3 separate regions of the Homo sapiens genome follow, and all the other regions are linked to region 1. Evidence: promoter capture Hi-C in 16 types of primary human blood cells and fetal thymus (Javierre and others, 2016). All regions are on one chromosome and are shown on one strand. Each heading gives the region's core, a stretch centred on a gene start or on the middle of the fragment in contact. The rest is flanking DNA. Distances are from core to core; before and after follow the strand shown. Region 1 holds the start of PIK3IP1 (phosphoinositide-3-kinase interacting protein 1). Region 2 has its middle 13 kb from the start of MTFP1. Region 3 overlaps TBC1D10A (TBC1 domain family member 10A).

Evidence for each region. Contacts are between HindIII fragments. The CHiCAGO score rates a contact against its expected background, and 5 or more counts as called.
Region 2: a contact is called between a fragment that was not itself captured here and the fragment with the promoter of PIK3IP1 in region 1, in 1 of 17 cell types (naive CD8 T cells). The highest score is 5.9, in naive CD8 T cells.
Region 3: a fragment that was not itself captured here is called in contact with the fragment with the promoter of PIK3IP1 in region 1 in 1 of 17 cell types (non-activated CD4 T cells); the score reaches 11.5 in non-activated CD4 T cells.

Annotation. Positions count from the first base shown.
Region 1 is chr22:31,291,237-31,293,936 of GRCh38, reverse strand. PIK3IP1 (phosphoinositide-3-kinase interacting protein 1) reads left to right here and starts at 1,449. Exons shown (of 6, transcript NM_052880.5): 1 at 1,449-1,662; 2 at 2,641-2,700. The coding sequence starts at 1,593. LOC105372997 (a long non-coding RNA gene) reads left to right here. Exons shown (of 4, transcript XR_001755493.3): 3 at 116-207; 4 at 785-993. RefSeq lists an enhancer at 2,067-2,116 and a silencer at 2,677-2,700. The HindIII fragment of the contact is 2,122 bases long and covers 1-1,792 here.
Region 2 is chr22:30,437,381-30,440,080 of GRCh38, reverse strand. It overlaps the pseudogene SLC39A1P1. Among named protein-coding and RNA genes, the nearest start is that of MTFP1, 13 kb to the right of the region's middle. The HindIII fragment of the contact is 3,153 bases long and covers 1-2,700 here.
Region 3 is chr22:30,308,897-30,311,596 of GRCh38, reverse strand. The region is part of intron 1 of TBC1D10A (TBC1 domain family member 10A); the gene reads left to right. Among named protein-coding and RNA genes, the nearest start is that of TBC1D10A, 17 kb to the left of the region's middle. RefSeq lists an enhancer at 1,632-1,681. The HindIII fragment of the contact is 5,585 bases long and covers 1-2,700 here.

The sequences.
Region 1 (2,700 bases), core at 200-2,699:
GTTTTCCTCCTTAAATTACAGCCTGCAAGATTGAAACAGAGTTTCCCCATTTCTATTTTGGGATCTGACTGAGTCACAAGGTAGTCTTGACGAATCACTCTGCTCTATCTCTCAGTTTACTGAGGCTGCCTGGGAACTTGAGCTGTCAGCCAAACAGGAAGAAGGGCCCTTCTGCCTACTCCAAAAGGCCTCAGTCAAATGGATATGGTGAGATTTAATGATGGATATAAATTACAGCAAATGGATTTCCTATAGGGTGAGGGAAAAAAAAAAAAGCAAACATTTTACTTAAATTCCTCTATACAATTTAGGGCTGGCAGAAAGGGTAGACTATTACAATGTAGCTGAGCAAATTTTTCCATGTTTGCATAACATGTGTTTTCAACTAAAGATACTCCTTCTATAGTCCTACTATATACAACACCCCAAAAAACCTCAAATGTAAGAAAAAGCAATGTGACAGATTTGACCCTGGCCAAGTTACACTGTTTTTTTTTTTTTTTTTTTTTTTTTTTTTTTTTAAGTGTCAGTGTTCATAAAGGCCCTTTTTCTTTTTCAAGGATGGGTATAAAGTGTTACTCGGCCGAACGCGGTGGCTCACACCTGTAATTCCAACACTTTGGGAGGCCGAGGCAGGTGGATTACGAGGTCAGGAGTTCAAGACCAGTCTGGCCAACACAGTGAAACCCCCGTCTCTATTAAAAATACAAAAAATTAGCTGGGTTGTGGTGGTGTGCCCCTGTCACAAGGTAGTCTTGACGAATCACTCTGCTCTCTCTCTCAGTTTACTGAGGCTGCCTGGGAGCTGTCAGCCAAACAGGAAGAAGGGCCCTTCTGCCTAACTCCAAAAGGCCTAAGTCAAATGGATATGGTGAGATTTAATGATGGATATAAATTACAGCAAATGGATTTCCTATAGAGTGAGGGAAAAAAAAAATCCAGCTACTCCGGAGACTGAGGCAGAATTGCGAGAACCCGGCAGGTGGTTGCAGTGAGCCGAGATTGTGCCATTGCACTCCAGCCCGGGCGACAGTGTGAAACTCTGTCTCAAAAAGAAAAGAAAAGAAAAAAAAAAAAACTATTACTCCACTCCCCACCAGAAACTCTTATTTTTTCCCCCCTATGTGGTCATGAATTCCTCCTGGGTGCATAGCTCCCTAAGTTGTTCTGTGTTTTAGTGCTTATAATTTCCCACATCCCATGATGCCCCTTGATAGAATTATTTTTTCTGTACTCACACAAATGGAAACAGAAGAGATGAAAAACCCTGGGGATGCGGCCTCGCAGGTCTCAAACTGATCGGCTGCTAAGCACAACCTGCATATCTCTTGGCTGAGTTCCTTTCTTGGCTCAGTTAGATTTTGCATGACCTAGGAGGCTTAGGACCCAGGGGGCGCCTTTCAGCTGAAAAACAGCTCGCGCTGCAGCAAGCTAGCTGGGAAGCTCCCAGTTCTAAAGAGAGGCTGTTTACCAGAACAGCATAACAAGGGCAGGTCTGACTGCAAGGCTGGGACTGGGAGGCAGAGCCGCCGCCAAGGGGGCCTCGGTTAAACACTGGTCGTTCAATCACCTGCAAGACGAAGGAGGCAAGGATGCTGTTGGCCTGGGTACAAGCATTCCTCGTCAGCAACATGCTCCTAGCAGAAGCCTATGGATCTGGAGGTGAGATTACAATCTTTCCTTTCCGCAGCAACTTCATGAAACAGAAGGGGTAAAGCCCCCTATTTCCCAAACAGGGCCAGGATGACAGGAAACGAAGCGTTTAGCCGGTTTCTGTTGTCCCGTGAAAGCTTTTCCACCCCTCCTTTCCTTGTCAGGGGCTTGCAGCTCCATCTTTGCCATTAAGAACAAAGGCAAGAAGCCACTTTCTCTCTGCCTTTCCTTGCTCATGAGTGGATGGAGCTTGGGGGTTCATCTCCCCTACTCCCCAAGTCCTGTTCTTTCTAAGCCCTTTGCATGGTGTGGTCCTCCTTCCCCAGCCTCCTTCTGTGGTTCTCCTGCAGAGGGGAGTGGGAGCTTGGAGTCTCATCCAGTCAGCGATGAGGCCGGTTTCCTCCGTTTGAGGCTGTCTTGAATCTTTTGCCTGACGGAGTCAAGGCTCCTGGAGAATTCTCCTGGGAGGGAGTATTTGCCTTTTAAACGGGCAGAAGGTGGCCGTATCCGTGAAGGAGGAAACACCGGAGTTTATGTAACGTGGCCATTACAACACAGGGACAAATGTCACGTCTGGGCGCCCCCCGTCCCAAAACTCCCAGCTCCTCAAAGGGACCCTAAGCCAGGCCTCCTCCTCTCCATCTCCTCCTCCAAAGTGGTCACAAGTTCAAGAGTAACAACGCTTTGCACTTCTGCAGCGCTTTCCAGGTTTCAAAAATAAATAAAACCTAACAGTCTCTGAGCGTTGACTGGGGGACAGGCACAGGCTGGGGGCTTCACACCCTGAGGTGTGCGTGGAGTTGGGGGGGGGGGGTGCGTGGGGCGTGGGGGTGTTGCCACGAGAGGAGAGGGAGGCCCAGCAGGGCCCGGGGTCCCCTAACCAGGCTGAGGTTCAGCCCGGGTGGTCCCGGCTCCCCTGTCCGCCACGCTGGGCGTCTTCCGTTCGCTGCCCGCTATTCTGTGTCCGGGGGCTTCTTTTCCTCACAGGCTGTTTCTGGGACAACGGCCACCTGTACCGGGAGGACCAGACCTCCCCCGCGCCGGGCC
Region 2 (2,700 bases), core at 1-2,500, 850 kb after region 1:
GGATCCCACAGCCAGCCACCACCTGTAACCCTACGTGGCTCTGCAGCAGTTGCAGGGACAGGCTGACAGCCACGGTGCCCTTGTGGAGCAGCAAAGCCAGGCGCAGCTCCGCGGCCCAAGCCCCGTCTCACTGCAACCCCTTGAACACTGAGTATAGAGCCAGGGAGAAGACCAGTACATGGGCACGCAGAGCTGAGGGGGCTGCTGGGGCTCCACTCACCTGTGGGACCCCTGGCCCTTCGTGAAGATTGGCCTTTTGAGGTATCTTTTTTTTTTTCTTTTTTGAGACAGAGTTTCTCTCTCGTCGCTCAGGCTGGAGTTCAATGGCACGATCTCGGCTCACTGCAACCTCCGCCTCCTGGGTTCAAGCAATTCTCCTGCCTCAGCCTCCTGAGTAGCTGGGATTACAGATGCCCATCACCACGCCCAGCTAGCTTTTGTATTTTTAGTAGAGACAAAGGTTTCACCATGTTGGCCAGGCTGGTCTCAAACTCCTGACCTCAGGTGATCCACCCACCTCGGCTTCCCAAAGTGCTGGGATTACAGGTGTGAGCCATCACGCCCGGGCTTTTTTGAGGTATCTTTTCAGGCTTTTTGTATGTCTGACACCTATGGTTCCACCTGGACCTGCCAACTGCTCCTGTGGCCTCACCCAGAAGTGACTCAGCATACAGGATCATTTCCCACACCCCTATCATTGCACCCCCAACCAGTCAGCAGCAGGCCCCATTGCCTAGCCACCCCCGCCACCCTTCCCTTAAACTACCTTTGAAAAACCCTAGCCCCTAAATGCTCCAAGAGACTAATTTGAATAATAAAAAAACTCCAGTCTCAGTGGCTCCTGCTTGTAATCCCAGCACTTTGGGAGGTCAAGGCAGAAGGATCACCTGAGGTCAGGAGTTCAAGACCAGCCTGGCCAACATGGTGAAACCCCATTTCTACTAAAAATACAAAAATTAGCCAGACCTGGTGGCGCATGCCTGTAGTCCCAGCTACTTAGGAGGTTGAGACAGGAGAATGGGTTGAACCTGGGAGGAGGAGGTTGCAGTGAGCCGAGATCACGCCACTGCACTCCAGCCTGGGCGACAGAGCAAGCCTTCATCTCAAAAGAAAAACCAAAACAAACAAACAAAAAACAACTCTGGTCTCCTGTTCAGCCATTTCTGCATAAATTAAACTCTTTCTCCACTGCAATTCCCCTGCCTTGATAACCCACTTGGCGGTTACAAGAGGAGCTTCCTAAGCCAGTTAGAGGGGGTCAGAGGTCACCTTGGGTTGGGGAGCAGGAACTGAGGGAGGAGGGAGCTGTAATCAGGGTAGGGCTGGTGAACCTGCAGGACGGGCTGGGGGAAAGGCATGGAAGGGAGTGTCCCAATAGGAGGGAACAGTATATGAGAAAGCCTGGGCAGGAGAAACACCAGATCTAAGGACCCAAAAAGGACAGAATGGCTGAAATGAAGATTTGGGGTGGGGCAGTGAGAAGGGTGTGTATGATAGGGGCGTTATCCAGATCACCAAGGGCCCTGAGAGCCACTGTGAGGGTCTGGACTCTGTTCTGAACATTGTAAGAAGTGGTTGGCCAGAGGGAACATTTGGAGAGGAACAAGCTAGAGGCTGCTACCATGATATATGTCTAGAGGGGACAGATAGGAGATGTGGTGCTAGAGTACTGGGGACAGAAGCCACAGGAATGAGCGGGAGCAGCCAGGGTAGAGAGAGGAGGGCCTGAGCCCAGGCTCTTAGCACTGGGGTGACAGCCAGAGAGGTAGAAAGGAATCTGGAGGGAGAGCTCCAGATAGCCAGGAGTCAGTCACAGCTGAGGCTGGCTTTCCCTTCTCCCTACCAGGCAGTTTTGGGGAGGGAATAACAGACCAGGCTTGAGTTTTACCTGTGACCATATATGCTGGGAGGCCTTTGCCAGGTCACTTGCCTTCTCTGATTCTTAGAATGTAAGTCTGGAATGGGGAGCAGTTTATCTACTATGAAAGGGAAATAAATCTGGGGACCTCAAAATCATTAAGCCAAAGGGAAAAGACAAGCTGGGAACTGCATCAGGCAAACTTGCCTCCCATTTTATTCCTAAATAAGATAGCTACAAGGATTAAAAAGCTACATACCTCATGCACATTTTGCCCACAAGGAAATTCCTTGTAGGCCTCAAGATTTTTACCCTAAAACAGTTCTGTTGGATTTCACCCTGGCAATGTAAATGAATAGCTGATCTTCACAGGTGCAGGACAAAGGACAGAACTCAAAGTCATCCCTCTGCTCACCTGAGACAAATGCATCTGATTGCTTCCTCTGCCCTTATTGTTTATGTAAAAATGCAGCTTCACTGAGCCAGACTAAAGCATAAGTGACTATTCCTCTACCCGCCACCCCGGCTCACATGTAAATTGTTATTCAGTGAAAGGCTGATAAGGATCCAAAAGAACACAAACTTTTATCTCTTATCGACCCATGACCTGGAAGCCCCCACCCCACTTCAAGTTGTCCTGCCTTTCCAGACCAAACCCATGTACATTTTACACACATTGATCGATGTCTCATGTCTCCCTAAAGTGTATAAAACCAAGCTGTGCCCCAACCATCTTGGGCACATGGCATCAGGGTGAGGCTGTCACAGGTGCATCCTTAACCTTGGAAAAATAAACTTTCTAAATTGATTGAGACCTGTCTCAGATACTTTTGGTTCACACT
Region 3 (2,700 bases), core at 105-2,604, 980 kb after region 1:
AAGGGTGGAGAGAACCTGTTTACCATTGTGCACTGACCCAGCACTAGAAGGAGCAGAGCCAGGGAATTCCTCATGGGAAAGACAGGCAGCCCCAGAATTAGCCTGCATTGGGAAGGAGGGAGAGTGAAGCAAGCCAGACTCTCTCACTCAGACAGGGAGCCTGGACACTGCCAGCCGGCTCCTAGGCAGGGGTGGCCGGGCCCCAGAAGGGAGTGCCAGGCTGCTGCAGACCCTCTTCCTTTTTCCTACCAACTCACAGAGTGTGTGGCGTCAGGCAGACCGCTTACCTTCTGGGGAGGGGATGGCCTCACTGCATGATCTCATAGGTTTCCCAGTCCTGACAGCCATTTGCACACCACCAGCCTACCCTCTCCTGCCTTTGGTTTCTCATCATCACTTCTTATGGAACTGGTCTAAAAGCCATTTATACCTTCATTCATTACCACCTCTTAGGGTAGTGAACTCCAGAGGTTGTTGCCTAGTATGCAAAACAGGTCAGCCTTTTGTTTGTCCTCACTTCACTTTCAGGCTCTGGGTGGAGAGGGAAACCCTCTGGATCGGTGATTGGCCATGCTCCCCCTGCACATCCACTTCCCAATTTTCCACACTTTGGTGGGACTTCCTCCAACTGCCTCCTCTCCATCCTGGAGACCCAAGTGTGAGGGGTTTTTTTCACGTTATTCACCCCTGCCTTTCTCGGCACAGAGGGTGATAAGAAGAGGGAAGGGAATGTGACAGGGATTGAAGCCATGGTATGAGCGGGGGACTTTATATGTCTTGTATAGTTTAGTGCTCAGGTGGCAGCCTCTACTTCCAGGCTATGTAACCTTGGGCATATTACTCCACTGTGCTGAATCTTAGTGTTCTTGTCTATTAAATGGAGATAATTAAAGCTATTTCCTTGGGGGATTGTGTGCCTGTGTAGTGCTTGGCAGAGCTAGTACACGGCCAGCGCATGAAAGTGTCAGCTCTTAATTGCCTCACATCATGTTTACCAATGTTCTCTGAGGAGGTGGCATTCCTCCTGGGTTACAGATGAGGAACTGGAAGCTCAGAGAGCAAAGCAGCCAGCCCTGTTTCACACAGCTGTAAAGCGGTAGAGCTTGGATCAGCGGCCAGGAGTTAGAATTTGTTTACCATTGAGCAAATTAAGTAATCTCTCAGAGCCTCAATTGCTTCATGAGTAAAATGGTGGTAATCATGCCCTGCCTTCCTCAAAGGCCTGTGTATGGGGACCAGTCAGATGAGAAAAGAGATGTGAAATTGCTAGTTAAGCCGCAAATACCAGTCACCTAATAGCTACCATTTGCTGGCCACCCACCAGGCTGGGCCCTTGTACACATTTATTCCTCATTGCAGCCCTATAAGAGATGAGGTGTGCGTTATGACCCCACTGAAAGATGAAGAAGTTGTCACTTTTTGCACATGGTCTCCCAGTTAGTAGATGGCAGAACTGGAGTACCTAGCTCAGCTAACTTCAAGTCCCCACTCTATTTATTCTCCCCTACACCCCACCTGGTTTCCCCTATGGGTGAGAGGAGGATCAGTCCTGTGGTCTGTGACCTCAGACTTTCTGCTTAGGGTGTATTTCTCTTTGTTTGGGCTGGTTCAGGGAGTGAGGCTTGGAGGAGGGTTTAGACGGGTTCCTTGGTATCAAGATTTATCTCCCACGACAGGCTAGGATAAGGAGGTGATGAGCATGGACACTGCCCTTGCTGAACCTGCCTAGCCAGAGGTGCTGAGATGTGCTTGGGCAGAAAGCAGATGTCTAGAAGGACAAGGGAAGAGAGAACCCCAGCCCTTGGTCTCAGTAGCCTGGGAAGCAGTCTTGTCCTTCTGAACTTTTGGAAGCCTCAAGCCTCTGGGTTTTGGGAGAACGCTAGGAAACTGGGAACCTACAGAGAATGGGGTCAGCAGAGTGTCACTGCTGCCTTGGACCATGACGTGGCACAGCATGGCTAAGCCTGTTCCAGTCCAGGAGCCTGACAAGATCTGTGATTAGGTGCCACCTTTGTCTCCTCTGAGCCTTTCCTCCTCAGAAGCTGGGGTTGCCAGCAAATGGCAGATTGCCCTGGCCGGGTGCGGTGGCTCATGCCTGTCATCCCAGCACTTTGGGAGGCTGAGGCGGGTGGATCACATAGTCAAGAGATTGAGACCATCCTGGCCAACATGGTGAAACCCCGTCTCTACTAAAAATACAAAAATTAGCTGGGTGTGGTGGTGCCCCAGCTACTTGGGATGCTGAAGCAAGAGAATCACTTAAACCCGGGAGGTGGAGGTTGCAGTGAGCTGAGATCATGCCACTGCACTCCAGCCTGGGCGACAGAGCAAGACTCCGTCTCAAAAAAAAAAAAATGGCAGATTACCCAGGCTTACCATCTGCACCTGAGGTTGTGCTGGCAAACCATCCCATCCAGTGTATTGGTGTCTCTGAGCATTGCTAGGTACGGGCAGGCCACTCACTGGGGCAGTCACAACACTGGAGGAGGGGGTTAGACTGTCTCCAGTGGCTTGGGCGCCAGAGATGGAGCCACACAGAAGCATCTGGAGAAGGGCCTGATTTCCCCACAGCCTTCCCCAGGGAACTGGAAATAGCATATAGGTCACTGTGACAGAGGGGAAGCCCTGGGTCAGCTACTTACTTATTAGCTTTGTGACTTTGTCCAAGTCATACAACCTTTCTGATCAGGCCAAGTCTGT